Regions from separate parts of the Homo sapiens genome. Here all the other regions are linked to region 6. The links are contacts of gene promoters, found by promoter capture Hi-C in blood cells and fetal thymus (Javierre and others, 2016). All regions are on one chromosome and are shown on one strand. The core of a region is centred on a gene start or on the middle of the fragment in contact, and the rest is flanking DNA. Distances in the headings are between cores, read along the strand shown. Region 1 overlaps CDCA4 (cell division cycle associated 4). Region 2 has its middle 10 kb from the start of PLD4. Region 3 has its middle 7.1 kb from the start of VESTAR. Region 4 holds the start of CLBA1 (clathrin binding box of aftiphilin containing 1). Region 5 overlaps GPR132 (G protein-coupled receptor 132). Region 6 holds the start of PACS2 (phosphofurin acidic cluster sorting protein 2).

The links. Contacts are between HindIII fragments. The CHiCAGO score rates a contact against its expected background, and 5 or more counts as called.
Region 1: a fragment that was not itself captured here is called in contact with the fragment with the promoter of PACS2 in region 6 in 5 of 17 cell types (neutrophils, non-activated CD4 T cells, naive CD4 T cells and 2 more); the score reaches 7.9 in neutrophils.
Region 2: a contact is called between a fragment that was not itself captured here and the fragment with the promoter of PACS2 in region 6, in 7 of 17 cell types (total CD8 T cells, naive CD4 T cells, non-activated CD4 T cells and 4 more). The highest score is 7.3, in total CD8 T cells.
Region 3: a fragment that was not itself captured here is called in contact with the fragment with the promoter of PACS2 in region 6 in 1 of 17 cell types (non-activated CD4 T cells); the score reaches 6.4 in non-activated CD4 T cells.
Region 4: the fragment with the promoter of CLBA1 here is called in contact with the fragment with the promoter of PACS2 in region 6 in 2 of 17 cell types (neutrophils and naive B cells); the score reaches 6.2 in neutrophils.
Region 5: a contact is called between a fragment that was not itself captured here and the fragment with the promoter of PACS2 in region 6, in 10 of 17 cell types (naive CD8 T cells, non-activated CD4 T cells, total CD8 T cells and 7 more). The highest score is 10.7, in naive CD8 T cells.

What each region holds. Positions count from the first base shown.
Region 1 is chr14:105,012,556-105,015,255 of GRCh38, forward strand. All of the region lies in intron 1 of CDCA4 (cell division cycle associated 4), which reads right to left. Among named protein-coding and RNA genes, the nearest start is that of CDCA4, 7.2 kb to the right of the region's middle. The HindIII fragment of the contact is 5,093 bases long and covers 1-2,700 here.
Region 2 is chr14:104,933,696-104,936,395 of GRCh38, forward strand. It overlaps a transcript of PLD4 not described here. Among named protein-coding and RNA genes, the nearest start is that of PLD4, 10 kb to the left of the region's middle. The HindIII fragment of the contact is 190 bases long and covers 1,231-1,420 here.
Region 3 is chr14:104,827,000-104,829,699 of GRCh38, forward strand. No RefSeq gene overlaps it. Among named protein-coding and RNA genes, the nearest start is that of VESTAR, 7.1 kb to the left of the region's middle. RefSeq lists enhancers at 1-652, 653-1,438. The HindIII fragment of the contact is 1,343 bases long and covers 647-1,989 here.
Region 4 is chr14:104,984,408-104,987,107 of GRCh38, forward strand. CLBA1 (clathrin binding box of aftiphilin containing 1) reads left to right here and starts at 1,381. Exons shown (of 5, transcript NM_174891.4): 1 at 1,381-2,447. The coding sequence starts at 2,025. RefSeq lists a silencer at 1,170-1,639. The HindIII fragment of the contact is 10,527 bases long and covers 1-2,700 here.
Region 5 is chr14:105,053,413-105,056,112 of GRCh38, forward strand. GPR132 (G protein-coupled receptor 132) reads right to left here. Exons shown (of 4, transcript NM_013345.4): 3 at 1,975-2,700. The coding sequence starts at 2,008. It overlaps LOC124903398 (a long non-coding RNA gene), which reads left to right. Exons shown (of 2, transcript XR_007064368.1): 2 at 1,997-2,365. Among named protein-coding and RNA genes, the nearest start is that of GPR132, 11 kb to the right of the region's middle. RefSeq lists an enhancer at 2,198-2,700. The HindIII fragment of the contact is 5,027 bases long and covers 1-2,700 here.
Region 6 is chr14:105,313,380-105,316,079 of GRCh38, forward strand. PACS2 (phosphofurin acidic cluster sorting protein 2) reads left to right here and starts at 1,369. Exons shown (of 25, transcript NM_001100913.3): 1 at 1,369-1,658. The coding sequence starts at 1,540. It also overlaps a transcript of BRF1 not described here. RefSeq lists silencers at 731-820, 921-1,450, 1,591-1,680, 1,911-1,990 and an enhancer at 1,735-2,386. The HindIII fragment of the contact is 4,816 bases long and covers 1-2,700 here.

The DNA.
Region 1 (2,700 bases), core at 199-2,698, 300 kb before region 6:
CGCGCAGGGGAAGGACTGCAGGGCTGTATGCTCATCCCATGCAGCGAGTGGTCTGTGTTTCGTGCACAATTCTCCAAGGGACACAGGGTCTCCTGGCCGAGCCTATGTGGCCCTGGACAGTCCCTTGCTCCCACACCCGCCCATGCTGCCTGCCTTAGGGATCACACCCATTCCTTGGCTCCCCCCACCCGCCCCACCAGTTCATTTCTCCCAAGGTGCACAGGCTCTGCCTGGCTGCTTTCTACTTGACATCTCTCAGGTCAATGCCCTCCACTCGAGAGCTCTGACCAGCCCGTACAACCATGGCCTCAGGGGCCACCTCCCCTCTCATCTCAACTCCTTTCTCTTCAAAGGAACCAAAACATGGCAGGGTATGTGTGTGTCCGGGGCAGGGGGGGTGGGTTCCTCACCAGTGTGTTGTGGCAGCCCAGAGCTGGCCAAGGCAGTGTTTCTCGGCGTATGCCTCAGCACTGGCGCTGTTGGTTGAAGATGCAGATTCCTGGATCTTACCCCAGACCTGGGCAACTCCGGGATGGCACCTAAGGCTCAGCCTTGCTGGGCAGGTTCCACTAAGACGCACAGCACAGATGCACTAGATGGACATTGGCCATGTCTACTCTCAGAAGTACAAGTCTGTGCAAACTGTTTTTTTTTTTTTTTAACTGATTCTAAATTGGGACATCTCTGGGGCACTAAAGGCAGAGCAGACAGGAGGGTGGGCTCTGGCTTTTGACAGATGCCATTCTGAGCCAGTGCCGCCTGCGGGGAGCTGGGAGGATGACAGCTGGCTCAGGGCCATACTGGCCGGCAGAGTCTGACAGGACAAGCATCTCACGCATGATTAAGTTTCTCTCTTCTCATGCTTGTAATGTAGTGAAATATTATTTCAAATAATTCAAGTTATGCATAAATAGGGTTACAATCTTTTGAATATGCAAACTTTGGAACTTCTTTTTCTCTTAGTCAATCTGATGGCTCCCTGTGACCAGGGTATACCCAGGTGCTCTTGGAAAGCTGGCGTATGGGAGGCACATGCTGTCTCTGCTCGGGGTCTGGAGACCAAGGATGGGAAGTTTTGCAGTGCGGGAGAACTGGCTGCCAAACATACCCCTTCCCAGGAGCCCCTCTGGAGGCTCCCACCTGCTGGTCCTACCCTTGAATTAACAGAAGAAAGGGTCCCCCTGTTCTCTGAATTTCCCTTCAGTGTCACAGATCTCATCCCCGTGCCTTTAACACATGTAAATTTTAAAAAACTAAGTGACCTCTTGGGCATTTATCCCAGAGAAAAAGCCAATGTTCATGCAAAAAACATGTTCCAGAATGTGCACAGCAGCTTTATTTGTAGTAGCTCCAAATCTGAAACAAGGAAAATGTACCCTTCACCTGGGCACGGTGACACACACTCTGCTCCATTCATGCCACCAAATCCTACTCTGCAATAGAAAGAAATGAACTGTTGATACACAGGACGGATCCTTCCACAGGGGCATTAGGCTGAGGGAGAAAAGCCAACCTCAGAAGGGTGCTTGCTATGGGATCCCATTTATGCCACATTGTCATGCTGACCCAGAGCTGAGGGGTGGCAGGGCTAGAAAGGAACCTGCGCAGGGAGATCTTGGGGGTGAGGGCCCTTCTGCTCCTGGGCTGTGGGGGTGGCCCTACCCTGACTGCACAGCGCCGGACACGCACACATGCGCCTGCGGCAGCCGTGTCATCACACGGACCTGGGGCCTGGCTGTGCATCCTACAAGGATGCCGGCCCTGGGGAGCAGAGGAAGGGCACATAGGACCTCCTGAACACTGCTCTGCAACCTCCCCTGGCTCTACAATTATTTCAAAATTAAAATTAAAGGAAAACTTCCCTAACCCTAGCTTATTTCCCCTACAGCACCCATTTCCCCAGAGCAGCATGCCAGTGTCACCACAGGCACAGCCCTCAGGCTGGGCACCGCCTCTCACACCTGCATACACCAGCTTCTCAACTAATTCTAAATGAAGGACAGTTTACCACCAAAACACATTTACACATTTCTATTACTTTTGGTAAATATTCGAGTTCTTTGTGTCAGCCACAAATTTAACTTTTCAGAGCTTTTCCATCCCAATCCATTGTTTAAATCACTGGCTTAAAATTGCTAAGTATATCGAGAATTAACATAAGGCTATGTCAAACTACAAAGGACACCCTGCGTTGGGGAAAAGATTAAGTCCCACGGGTTCCTCTGTGGGAAGTCAATATACCTTTTAGGTTTTTAGTTTCTCTTTCAACCTATCTCAATCCCAAGCCTGCATAGCAATGGATTAATTTAGGACCCAAACCAAATCCTCTTGAACAGCATGCATTAAGCCCAAGTTTATAGACAGAAGAACCCCTGGCTGCCTCCCCTGACTCTGGAAACCCAGCAGCACAACCCCCATAATGTGGGGCCTACAGGAGGTCAGCACGACTGAGCAGGGCAATCAGGGCAACTCACAGAAGGAACAAGAATACCAATGGGACAGGCCAAGAAGACCCACAACCACACTGGGAACCAGTTCAAGAAGCTGTCCCAAGCTCCTAGGACCCTCTGGGTCCCACTTTCCTTTCCTCTGAGTCCTTAGAAATGCCAGGTCCTGAGTCCAAACCCAACGACAGACCCTCCCGCCCTTTTCTGAAAGCCAGATATGGATACTAGAAGCCTCCCACTGGGGATCTTAAGA
Region 2 (2,700 bases), core at 76-2,575, 380 kb before region 6:
GGCTGAGTGAGGGAAGGGCGGGAGGGGACCCGCGGCTGAGGGGACCGGGAGGGCGGGAGGCGACCCGCGGCTGAGTGAGGGGAGGGTGGGAGGGGACCCGCGGCTGAGGGGACAGGGAGGGCGGGAGGGGACCCGCGGCTGAGGGGACCGGGAGGGCGGGAGGCGACCCGGGGCTGAGTGAGGGGAGGGCGGGAGGGGAGCGGGGCTGAGGGGACCGGGAGGGCGGGAGGGGACCTGCGACTGAGGGGACGGGGAGGATGTGAGGCGATCCGGGGCTGAGTGAGGGGAGGGTGGGAGGGGACCCGCGGCTGAGGGGACGGGGAGGGCGGGAGGGGACCCGCGGCTGAGGGGACGGGGAGGGCGGGAGGCGACCCGGGGCTGAGGGGACGGGGAGGGCGGGAGGGGACCCGCGGCTGAGGGGACAGGTCCTGCGTGCGGGCTGGGGAGACAGGCGGGCGAGGGTAGGGGTGCACAAGGCTGTGTGGTTTGTGGGCTGTTGTGCAGGGTGGGTCCAAGCATGTGGGGGCAGGCTTGTCCTGGGGATGCAGTGCCCAGGGTTGGTGGATGGGGCTGAGAGGACCAGCATTTGAGCTGGAGGGCAGGAAGGTGACTCCAGTCTGAGACCAGGACTTGGATGCAGCTCCACTGGAACTCACCCTATCCTGGGAGCCACCTGGGCACCTGTCCTGCAGATGCAGGATTTGAACCCAGGTTTGGCAACTCAGTTCCCACTCTTCTGCTATGAATGCTGGGTCAGAAGGATTCTCAAAACACCCTGGCTTATCTCACCTGATGGTTCCTGACCAAGACCACAGGGTACCCTCCCCTGGTGGAGGTCCATGGGGCCATGCTAGGCTGGAGTTCAGGGATGGCTCAGCGGTATGAAGGAGCACTGGATGCTGAATGGACCCCAGGGTGCCCCGAATGCTCTCCCGGTCTTGAGGCACCACTTTCCTACCCTTCTCTACTTCTCTCCTTTTCCTACCCTTCTCTACTTTTTTCTTTCCTACATTTGTGTCCCTGCCACACTGTGAACTCAGCCATATCTTCCTCTTCCCTCTTTGCTTTGGGGAAAGCTAGCAAAGTTCATCTCAGGTACAGTACAAGTTACTTTTCTGTTCGATTAGTGACCTCATACTTCCCCCATCTAAAGGACACCTTAGACTTCAGCATTCTGTCTGTGCAGAAATCTCCTACACCCATCCTGCCTCCCTGCCCAAGCTTGTGAAAAGCTTGCTGCAGATGCTGCAGGGGGATAGGGATCCACATAGCCCTGCAAGGCCTTCAGGAGCTTCTGGGGGCTGCTTTGTGTGTGAGCTGCACTTGGCCAAGCCAAGCTCTGGCAGTTGCAGTGGCTGCTCCCTGTGGCTTCCTATCCCTCATTCATGCTCCATATCTCCTCAGTAACCATCTGGCAAAAAGCTTCGTGGCAACACCTGGCTCAGAAGCCGATATCATCCCAGACTAAGCTCTGCCCTCCAGGGTTGCACGTGTGGGTTTGCTCCCTGGTTCTTGGCCTTATACCTGAATGTGTCTCAGAGCACTTGGCCTGCTCTCTTGGCCTGCCAACTATGTTCTAGGAGGGCTCTGTGCTCCAGGCTGTGATTTGGACAACTGGCTGGTGGCCCTCAGCCAGTGAAAGGCCTCTTTCCACACACCTGGGGACTGGCAGTCACACCTCAGTGGCACTGACAGAGGCCTGCTTCAAGGCAGATGCCTATTCCAAAGGAAATCCAGCTTGACAAGGCTTGGGAGACCCCAGGAGGGTGCCACAATGTGGCCCCTTCTGGGCTATAGCAGACAGACTCTAGAATGGCTCCCTTGACCCCCACCTGCTGGTATGCATGCCCTTGTGTGATCTCACCTTGAGTGTGTGCAGGACCTGTGCCTTGTTGTAACCAATAGAATACAGAGGTAAGGGGATGTCACTCCTGTGACACCTTGTGATCATGTGACATAAGATTATAACATTATCAAGGAATAGCAGTCTATCCCTTGCTAGCTTTAAAAAGTGAGCTGCTAGGCTATGAGCTGTCCTATGAAGAGGCCCATGTAGCAGGGTACTGGGGTTGCCTCCAGCCCCCAACTAGCAAGAAACTGGGGCCCTCAATCATCCCATCCACAAGGAGTTGAGTGTGGCTAGCAACAACGTGAGCTTCAGAAGTGGCTGCTTTCCTGGTCATACCTGAAGGGGAGACCACAGCCCCAGCTGACATCTTGATTGTAGCCTAATGGGACCTTGAGCAGAGAACCCAACAAAGCCACACTTGGGCTCCTGATCCACAGAAACTGGGAGATCATAAATGTGTGTTGTTTTAAGTTGCTAATTTGTAGTGATGTTCTTATGCAGCATAGATAACTCATACACAGAGAACCAAGGCCACGCGAGAACCCTGTGGGGGCCCCTGCTGCTCAGCCACTCCTCACATGCTGGGACAGCTGTCTCTCTGGCCTCTAGCACCAAGGTCCCCACTATCCCAGGCCTTGACTCTTGGATCAGAGAGGGACAAAAGCCCCATGGAGCCAAGCAGACTCCTCCCCCTGGGCTGCACTCACCTAGCTTGTCTGGCACACACAAGTTGGAGTAGAGAAGGCAGGAAGCCCTGGGAAGGGAGAGGGTGATGGCCTTGCTTAACTGGGATGAGTGTCCACCAAATTTCCCTTCCCACTTCCCCTGCTCATGAGCCCCCAGGGGACCTG
Region 3 (2,700 bases), core at 68-2,567, 490 kb before region 6:
GGGCGTCGGGGGAGGTGACGGCGCGGAGACCTCGGACTCTCAGTCCTGCAGGGGCCGCGGACACAGGTGGGGAGGAGTGGGGGAGTTTTTCCCTGGGAGAAATGGGAAGCGTCGAAGGATTTTAAGGAGTGCGGCTGGTCGGGTTTGCATTCGGGGAGGTCGCTTTGTCTCTTGAGTGGAGAATGAGGAGGTGGCAACAGCAGGGGAGTCACCGGGAGGCTGCTCGGGTCCAGCTCAAAAACGCCAGGCCCGCCCCCGCCCCGCAGGTCCGCGGGAAGGAAGGAAAAGGCGTTGGGGATGCGTAGGAGGCAGAGGCCTTGGTGGTCGATCCGGTGTGGAGTGGGGCAGGGGCTGCGAGGAGGGCGCCCAGGACTGGTATCAGTGAACAGTGACGGTGGGGCAGGGCGGTGACCTTAGCACCAGCGCTTCGGTGGGGGGGAGGAAGCACCTGAGCCGCGGAGAAAGGCCTGCGTGAGGTGGGCACAGGCTGGCGTTGAAGCCCTGGGGTGGACTCACGTCCAGGGGAGGGCGGTGCTTCACACGTCCCAGGCACTGTCTTGTGTGGCCCCAAGTGCTGTCTGAATCTCTCCTGCGTCTTGGGCCCCAGCACCAACAGCCGTCGCCCTGGAGCCAGGCAGCAGCCTTAAGCTTCCCTGGGAGGCTGACTGGCTGGGAGCAGGGAGGTCCCATCGGGGAAGTAGGGGCGTGCAGGGGGCTTGGCGCCTGCAGTCCTGGAGGGGCAGGGCAGATGATAAGGCTAAGTACCTCCTGTCCTTTGCTCAGCCAGCCACTAGGAGGAGGCCGCAGAGAAGAAGCCGCCAGGGGCTGGGGGAGGCCAGGGACGGGGCAGGGAGGAGGGGCTGGGCTGAATGCAGGTGCCCCAGGAGCTGCGGGCTCTCCTTCCACAGGTTCGTGTCTGGTACACGGCTGGAGAAGGCAGGGAGGGTGGGAGGAGCCTGGCTTGGAGAGAAAGGGCTGGCCGGAGACACCAGAGTGCTCAGGGCAGGGGCGGGAGAGGTGGTCCCTCAGGCCTCAGTGGCAGAGGCATGGGGATCCAGGGCTGAGAGTGAGTCTGTGGTTCATGGGGTTACCAGAAAGGGGTCCTGATCCAGATCCCAAGAGAGGGTTCTTAGATCTCACGCAAGAAAGAATTCAGGGCGAGTCCACAAAGTAAAGCGAAAGCAAATTTATTAAGAAATTAGAGGAATAAAAGAATGGCCACTCCATAGAGCGGGCCAGAGGGCTGCTGGGTGACCATTTTTATGGTTTTATTTTTATTATATGATAAACAAAGGGTGTATTATTCATGACTCTCCTTTTTAGACCATAAGGGGTAACTTCCTGATGTTGCCATGGCATTTGTAAACTCTCATGGTGCTGGTGGGAGTGTAGCAGTGAGGACGACCAGTGGTCACTCTTTTTTTTTTTTTTTTTGAGACAGAGTCTCGCTGTGTCGCCCAGGCTGGAGTGCAGTGACACGATCTTGGCTCACTGCAGGCTCCGTCTCCCGGGTTCACACCTTTCTCCTGCCTCAGCCTCACGCCTGTAATCCCAGCACTTTGGGAGGCCAAGGCAGGCGGATCACGAGGTCAGGAGATTGTGACCATCCTGGCTAACACGTGAAACCCCGTCTCTACTAAAAATTCAAAAAATTAGCCAGGCGTGGTAGCGGGTGCCTGTGGTCCCAGCTACTCGGGAGGCTGAGGCAGGAGAATGGCATGACCCTGGGAGGCAGAGCTTGCAGTGAGCTGAGATCGCGCCACTGCACTCCAGCCTGGGCGACAGAGGGAGACTCCATCTCAAAAAAAAAAAAAAAATTTTAAAAGACCAGGTGCAGTGGCTCACGCCTGTAGTCCCAGCACTTTGGGAGGCCATGGTGAGTGGATTGCTTGAGCCCAGGAGGCAGAGGTTGCAGTGAGCTGAGATGGGGCCACTGCACTCCAGCCTGGGTGACAAAACAAGACCCTGTCTCAAAAAATAAAATATTTAAGCTTATTTTGTGTGTGCTATGGTTTGAATGTTTGTGTCCATCCAAAATTCATATATTGGAACTTAAGTTGCAAAGTGATGGTATTAAGAGGTAGGGCCTTTGGGAGGTGACCAGGGCAGGGCGGACGGGATTAGTGCTCTTACACAAGGGCTTGAGGCAGCGGGTTCTTTTCTTTAGGCCTTTTGGCCCCTTCCTCTATGTGAGGGCACAGCAAGAGGGTGTAATCCCTCCCAGACACCACATCTGCTGGCCTTGACCTAGGACTTCCCCGCCCCTAAAACTGTGAGGAATACATTTTTAGTATTTATAAATTACTCAGTCTGTGGTATTTTATTTATTTATTTGAGATGGAGACCAGCCTGGGCAACATAGTGACACCTCATTTCTTTAAAAACAACAACAAAAAAATTAAGGGAAAATCAGCCAGGCATGGTGGCATGGGCCTGTAGTCCCAGCCACTGGGGAGGCTACAGTGGGAGGATCCCTTGGGTTGGGCCTGGGAGTCCGGGCCATGATGATATCACTGCACTCTAGCCTGGGTGACACAGCAAGACCTTGTCTCAATTAAAAAAAAAGAAAAGAAAAGAAAAGAAAGGCATAGATCTTTACTGCAAGACGCCCACAGAATGCTGTCTACATGCCATGCCTCTAATTCCTCTTCTTTCATTCTCTTTTTAAAAACTTTTAAGATTGAGATATAATTCACATAC
Region 4 (2,700 bases), core at 131-2,630, 330 kb before region 6:
TGGGGTGGCCAAGCCAAGATCCAGTCCTGGGCAGTCTGACCGAAGAGCTTCCATACTGCATGGCCCGGCTGCTCTGCCCCTCAGGAAGGAGCGGGGACAGGAGGCTGGGTCTAAGGTGCAGAGAATGATCTCATCTTGTCATTTGTAAAATTAAATTGTTCTGTAGCTTGGCTGAGAAGGACCAGGGAGGGAAGGGGTGATTCAAGCAAGGACAGAGTCCAGGCAGGGCCCCAGGCCCCAGGGTGGGAGAAATGCGAGCCTGAGGTAGATAGGGGGTGGACAGTAGGTGGCATGGTTCAGGGCTTCACCAGGGCCAGGCCCTCCCCTTACCCAGAGGAGGCAGTGATGGGGGCCAGTCTGGGAAGGCCAGGGAGGAGATGGAGTCAAGGTTGACTCCTTGAGTCTGGGGGTGAGGGCAGATGGCAGAAGGCCTGGAAGCCCGGAGGGGAGCTGCCAGAGGCCAGCCTAGCTCCTTGGTCGTCCAGTGGCTGGAGAGGGGCTGTCCGTCAGCCCTGCTCTGCCCGGGTCTGGCTGGTGACAAAGGAGGGGAGCACTCCATGCGGCCTGCGAGGGAGGGGTGGAGCCTCCCCGCAGCTCCTTCCCCCAGGAATGGGGACGAGTTAGGGGCGGGCGAGGTTTTGGGATTCAGGAGTCAGCAAGACGGACTTGGCTCTCGCCAGGGACAGGTGGGGTCCTGAGGGGCCGTCGCTCAGCTGCACCCACAGAGGGGTCGGCGGCGCGGCAAGTTAGGCTGCGGGGCGCCGGGAGAAGGGGCTGCGGGTGACGGGTGCGCTGGGACGGACCTGGGGAGCTCGTCGTGAGGAAGAAAGAACCACTCTAGGGCCAGGCCCAGTGGCTCAAGCCTGTAATCCCAGCACTTTGGGAGGCCGAGGCGGGCGGATCACGAGGTCAGGAAATCGAGACCATCCTGGCTAACACGGTGAAACCCAGTCTCTATTAAAATACAAAAAAATCAGCCGGGCGTGGTGGCGGGCGCCTGTAGTCCCAGCTACTCGGGAGGCTGAGGCAGGAGAATGGCGTGAACCCGGGAGGCGGAGCTTGCAGTGAGTCGAGATCGCGCCACTGCTCTCCAGCCTGGGCGACAGAGCGAGACTCCGTCTCAAAAAAAAAAGAAAAAAAAAAAAAAGAAAGAACCACTCGGGCGGCGAACTGAGCACGGACAGAAAGCTCGAGCGGCCCGGCGCCCAGGGCTCGGCCAGTGTGGAAGCCCGATCCCACCCGCAGCGGAGGCGGCCCGGGGCAGGGAGGGCGGGTCCGGGGCGGGTCCTGAACGGCGGGGGCCGGCGCTGGCCTCGCCCCGGATGCGTGCTGACGCCACGGCGACGGACGCCGGAAGCGGAGCTGGCGCACGCCGTTGCCAGGCAACGGGGCGGCGCAGGCAGGAGGGAACGGCTGGTTGCAGGTTTCTCTCGCCCTGGTCCCGCGCGGCCCCGCCGAGGCGGCGACCAAGGTGGGTGCGGGGACTCTCGGGAGCCGTGGGCCAGGCGCTTAGCCGGCCACCTCGGGCCCTGTCCAGGCCCAGGCGTTCCAGGGCTGCTCTGCGGGCCGCGTGCGAGAGGGACTCTCGGGAGGCCCCGGGGCGCCGCACCCACTCCTTCCCACTTGGGACTCCCGCGGGCGCCCGGCTCTCGCTCCTCTGGCCAGCGTGGGCCTCCCAGGCCCCCTCGCGGCTCTCTCCAGAGCAGGAGCCCCACCTTGGGCCGCCCCTCTCACACCTGCCGTGGGTCTGGTACGCGCCTCTGTGTCGGACTCCGCGCCCGCCTGCGTGGGAGGAAGCCAGGACTCCCGGGCGACCGGGCCATTCCTGTGGTTTGTGTCAGTTCCACAGCAGCACGTGGGCACTTTCCACCGTCAGCCACTGGGCAGCCCGGGGCACTCCTGCAGCGTCCCCTGGCCCTCTCCAGGGCAGGGGAAGGTTGGGCAGTCCTGGGCGGCCAGCACCCCGGCGTGCATGTCTCCTGAGCAGCTGCCCATCGGGCCTCTGCTGGCCTGGGGGCTCCAAGATGCAAGGCCGGCGGGAGCTGGGGGGAGAGCCTTTGAGTGACCTCCAGGAGGAAGCAGCCAGCGCTTCCCTCCGAGTGGCACCTGAGAGGCTGAGTGATGACAGTTTGGAATGGAGACGGACCTGCCCCGACCTTCTCCTGTCCGATGGGAAAGCCAGCATCTCCATGCCCCGTGAGGGCGGTTCCACCTGCACTGCCCGATGTCCTGACCCTGGGGAACACAGCAGCACTTGGGGGGAGTTTGAAGGCTTTCGGGAATCTTCAGCCAAGTCTGGACAATTCTCACAGTCCCTTGAACTCCTCGAGGGACCCACAGAACCCCAGCCACCGAGAACCACTTCTGCCCCAAAAGAGTGCAGTTCTCACCAACCATGCCAGGGTGGACCTTGGGTGACAGGAACTTCTGCCGTCCCACCTTCTGAGGTATTTCTGCTGTGCTGTGGTCACCATGTTGAGTGGGACGTGTACACACCAAGAGGCCTACAGCCCTCGAATGCTGTGGCGTGCTGGCCAGGGAGGGGGCTGACAGCCCCAGAGCGTCTGCTTCTCTCCTGGCCTTCGTCCCTGGCCATGTGGTTGGCAGTCCCATCCTGAGGCCAGGGAAGCAATGAGTTGGCAGAGGAGGCTGCAGAAATGGGTCACACGAAGGCCAGGTGGGGGCCACCTGAGCTGGGTC
Region 5 (2,700 bases), core at 35-2,534, 260 kb before region 6:
GCCTCCCAAAGTGCTGGGATTACAGGCGTGAGCCACTGCGCCCGGCTAATCTGTAGTCTTACCACATATTTGCCTGTGTGAACTATCAATTACTAAAAAAGATAATTATAAGCTCCTGTGGGAGTGGTGGATTTGTCCACCTCTCCTTGTATTCTCCCAGTGCTTGCTTTACGTATTTGAAGCTACTGTGAATTGGGGCATAGGAGTCACAGATGGTTCTGTCTTCTTGGTGAATTGATCCTCTTATTACTATGTCATGTGATACCCCTCCTCTCGGTGGCAGGAGACTAATGACCCCACCCAAAAGATGTCTGAATCCTAATCCTTGGGACATGTAGATATGGCAGGTTACACGGGAAAGGGGAACTAAGGTTGCAAGTTGAATGAAGGTTGCTAACTAGCTGACAGTAAAATAAAGAGATTATTCTGGACTATCTGGTGGGCCCAATGGAATCACAAAAGTCCTTAAATGTGGGAGAGGGCAAAAGAAAAGGAGATCAAAGTGATCTCAGCAACCTGCCTCAAACACAGCTCTCCGAGGTCAGAAACTCATCCTTTCCAGCCAGGGGGTTGCTAGAGGTCACGCAGGGTGTGCAGTGGTGTGACTTCCCCAAGCTCTGCCAGCGCCACCAGCTCCAGTGTCCTGGCTGCCCACTCTGGCTGAGTTCATGCTTCTGGGCCTTCTGTGGTTACAGATCATGGAGTCCCACCTCCAGGTCAGCAGGAAGCCGCAGACAGACCTGGCCTCAGCACCTGACGGACGGACAGAGCGTTGCCAAACTTATTGGGCCACAGCAGCCCCGGGCGGGGCAAACTTCAGCTGTGCCCTGGCGCGAGGTCAGGGGTCCCTGGGCACTGTCCAGCCCGCTGGCCTCAGGAACCTTCCACATGCAAATGTCGTAGTTTCCTTGACCTCCCTCCTGTACTTGAGGGCCTGTTGACCTCCAGCACGATGGGGCAAGTCACCCCGAACGGGGTCAGCCCTGCGGCCCCATTGTGTCGCTCTTTTTTTTTCTTTTTTTTTTTTTTGAGACGTAGTCTCAAAAAACTGTGTTGATGCCCAGGCTGGAGTGCAGTGGCGTGATCTCTGCTACTGCAACCTCTGCCTCCCAAGTTCAAGTGATTCTCCTGCCTCAGCCTCCCGAGTAGCTGGGACTACAGGCACTCGCCACCACGCCCATCTAATTTTTGTAGTTTTAGTAGAGACAAGGTTTCACCAGGTTGGCCAGGCTGGTCTTGAACTCCTGACCTTGGGTGATCTGCCCACCTTGGCCTCCCAAAGTGCTGGGATTACAGGTGTGAGCCACCATGCCAGGCCACTTGTTTTTGTGCATTTAAAAAATTCAGCTGGGCGCAGTGGCTCACGCCTGTAATCCCAGCACTTTGGGAGGCCAGGGTGGGGAGATCACTAGAGGTCAGGCGTTCGAGACCAGCCTGGCTAACCTGGTGAAAACTCGTCTCTACTAAAAATACAAAAATTAGACAGGCGTGGTGGCAGGTGCCTGCAGTCCCAGCTACTTGGGAGGCTGAGGCAGGAGAATGGTGTGAACCCGGAAGGCAGAGATTGCGCCACTGCACTCCAGCCAGGGCAACAGAGCAAGACTCCATCTCAAAAAAAAAAAAAAAAAAAAAATTCGGCCCCATGGGCCGTTCATTCCTTCAATCCCAACGCTTTGGAAGGACAAGGCAGGTGGATCACCCGAGGTCTGGAGTTCCAGACCAGCCTGACCAACATGGTGAAATCCCATCTCTATTAAAAATACAAATATTAGCCAGGCGTGGTGGGCACCTGTAATCCCAGCTACTTGGGAGGCTGATGCAGGAGAATCCCTTGAACCTGGGAGGCAGAAGCTGCAGTGAGCCGAGATTGTGCCACTGCACTCCAGCCTGGGCGATAGAGTGAGACTCAATCGCAAGAAAAAAAAATTGAAAAAGTGGAAAATTGTGGCAAAATACACATAACAAGGAATTTACCATTGTAACCGTTTTTCAGTAGCATTGGGCACATTCACATTCTTCTGCAACCATCGCCAGCATCCGTCGGCAGAACCTTCTCATCTTCCCAAACGGAGACTCTGCCCCAGGAAGCACTCGCTCCGCATTTGCTCCCAGCCCCCAGGCCTCCATTCCACTTTGTCTCTGTGCGCTGGGCTCCCCTGTCACCTCCCCACGTGGGTGGGCATCTCTGCGTGTCTTCAGCGTGTGTCCTTCCGTGTCTCACGTGCTCCACTCACCACAGTGTCCTCAAGCTCCCTCCTGTTGCAGCGTGTGCCAGGATTTCCCTTCCTTTCAAAGGCGGGATGGTATTCCATTGTATTCAGTGTGTCCTCCAGGGTCTCGCCAAAAATATAAATATATATATATATTCCACTGTGCCCTTCCATCTTGAGCAATCCTGCACGTGTGGCGTGTGGCGTGTGGCGTGTGGCGTGTTCTGCTCAGCCACGACTCCGCTGACAGACGCTCGGCTGCCTCTGTGCCTTAGCTGAGCTGCTGAGAATGACGGTGTCAAGAACATGAGGAGGGCTGTTCACGTCCCTGCTTTCCGTTCTCCTGGGTCAGACCCACAGTTGGCATTGCTGGATCTCACGGCAGTTCCGTCTCATCTCGTGGGGTGCCTCCGCGCTGTTCTCCACGGTGGTGGCGCTGGCCCACCTTCCCCCGGCGGTGTGCAGGGCTCCGGTCTCCCCACAGCCTCGC
Region 6 (2,700 bases), core at 119-2,618:
CTCTGCCCGCCGAGCAGCTGGCCAAGGTCAGACAGACCCTCATGGCTCTCAGTGTACCACCTTAGAGGAGCCAGGGGCGCGTGGGAAACACAGAGTCCCTTGTTCTCTCCGAAGTGGGACCCTGACTTTAAGCAGTCGCAGCTGTTTGCAGTTCTAGATACAGGAGTTACAGCTGGAGGCTGAGCTCTCTCAACGGAGGAAGCAGCGGCATGAGGGCCTTTGCAGAAGGAGCTGACGGGGCACTGGGGTGGCAAGCCCCGTGGGCCAGGAAAGAAACCAGCTCCAGGTCAATTTGCTCGGGCTGGATTTGTTTCAGTAAAACTACTTGTAGACAAGACACAGGGCGAAGAGAAAAGCAACTGTAAACTAACTGTGAAACAAGGAAACAGAAGAGAGGCCAGAAAACCGTTTCCTAAATCTCGGCTTGGCATCTGGTGCTGGACCACAGCCGCTGCCAAACAGATGGGGGAAGCACCCTCCCTGAGCCCCAGAGCCTACACGTCGGGCCCCAGCGGCTCTAGCCATTGCCTCCTCTTTGCTTGGGTCCCCAAGTTCACTGTTAACCCCAGGGCCAGGAGCCAGCCTTGGCCCCAGACATTTGTTCTCCATTGTCCTGAGCACAACGCTGAAAAGCGGCGCTGAATAAGGATGCTGGGACGCAAAGAGGGCGCCCGGGGTCATCTGGAGCCCTGGAGGCTAAGCTCGGCAGCCTGGCGCCCCGAGTGGCTTCGAGTCCCCGCGACCGCCGCCAGGCCCGGCCACCTCCTTGCCACCTCCCTGCGTCCCGGGGAACCCACGCAGGGGGGCGCGAGGGAGGGGCTCGGGGACGGGCGGGGCCCGCACAGCCGGGCCAACCCAGCGGGGGTCGGCAGGAGACAAGGGGCGGCGAGGGCAGGGGGGCGGGGAGACTCGGGGCATGGCGGGGTGGAGGCGGGAAAGTGTCGAGGCCGGGGAATCCGCGCGTGGGGAGGTGGGCATCGCCAGGGCGACGATGAGCTTTCCTTAGGGGGCGGCGCCTGAAGCTGGCCGGGACCCGGTGGACCCCCACGACTCTCCCGGCCCTTGCCCGCGGCTCCCGGGGGGCGGGGCGGGGCGCCCCGGGCGGGGTCTGTGCGCAGGCGCGTGAGTGCGCGCTCTCGCGCACCGGCGGGCGGGGACGCCCCGTGAGGCGCCGCCGGAGGAAGCGCGCGCGCACCTCACTTCCGGCGCGCGCTGCGCCGGCGGCGATTGGACCCGAGGCGGCGAGCTGGCGCCCCGCCCAGCCAATCGGCGGCGCCGGCGCGGGTCGGAGGGCGCCGGGCGCGCGCGGGGCGGCCGGGGGCGCGCGGGGCGCGGGCGGGGCGCCGGGCGGGGCGGGGCGGAGCGGCCGCAGCTCGTCGCCGCCCGCGGGCCTGTCCGACGCCGGGGCCCGGCCCGTCCCCTCCGCCGCCCGGCAGCCATGTGACCGCGCCGCCGCCCTCCGCGCGCCCGGCCCGCCCGCCGCGCGTCCGCGGCCCGGCCGCAGCCCCAGGCCGCCGAGGGAGCGGCGGGGCCGGCGCCATGGCCGAGCGAGGCCGCCTCGGCCTCCCCGGCGCGCCCGGCGCGCTCAACACGCCCGTGCCCATGAACCTGTTCGCCACCTGGGAGGTGGACGGCTCCAGCCCCAGCTGCGTGCCCAGGTACGCGCCGCCCGCCGCGCTTTGTTCCCGCCGGGCACCTGCTGGGGGTGTCCTGGCCGCGGCCTCTGCGCGCCCCATCCCCGGCCCGGGTCCCCCAGCGGAGCCCAGGTCGCCCCCCGCGCCCCCGCCCGCCGGTTCGACGCGTGCAGCCGCCGCCCCCCCGCAGCTCCGGCAAGCGCGGCCCCAGCCCCCCAGGTCCCGAGCACCGGGGGCCGCGCTCAGCTTCCGAGGACCCGGTGCTGCTCAGACCCGGCGGGACCTTGGGGCTCCCGGGCGGCGCTCACCTGGCTCGCCGCAACCGCACCTGCACACCTGCCTCAATGCGGTGCCGGCCGGGGTGACGAGGGTGCTTCCTCTCTCGGGTACCACACGCTTCCTTTCGCGTTCGGCGACACTGTCAGACCTCGGCCTGGGAGCGACCCCCGGCGCACGGGGCGCGCAGGACTCGGTTGTATCCTCCGTCCAGCGCGCGGTGGAGATGCCCTGTCCTGCGGGGCGGGGTCGTCCTCGCGGGTACCTGGTTGGCGCTGTCTCTCATTTAGAGGCGTCGCCAAGCCAGTACTGCTATTTGCGCCTCCCAGTTGATCTTGCCATTGCGGAAGACTGGCTGTTCTGCACTTGGTAGGGGGGCGCCCGGTCGCCCAGCGGTAACGATTGGACAGGGTTTACCCTCCGGCCATAGCCCAGCCTTCCTTGGACTTGCAGCTTCCCTGAGTCTCCTGCTCAGTTTGAAACTTTTGTAATTTCTTCGTGACTTGGTAGTTCCTGCTCAGGAAGCTCCCAGGCTAAGGAGGAGAGAGACACGCTCTCCGGAAAAGTTCTGGTTCTAGAATAGACAGCAGGCGAGAAGAGGAGGCGGTTGGGGGTAGTGAGAGTTCTCCCTGGGGAGATGGGAGGGTGAGCGGACCTTCCAGGCACTGGAAGTGGCCAGTATGCCTGGAGGGGACCCCACGTGGCATTGAGTTGTTCCACCCCTAGTCAGCTGCAGGTGGGCCTCTCCGTGCTTTCCTGTGGCTCCCACAGCCTGCATCTCTGAGCGTGG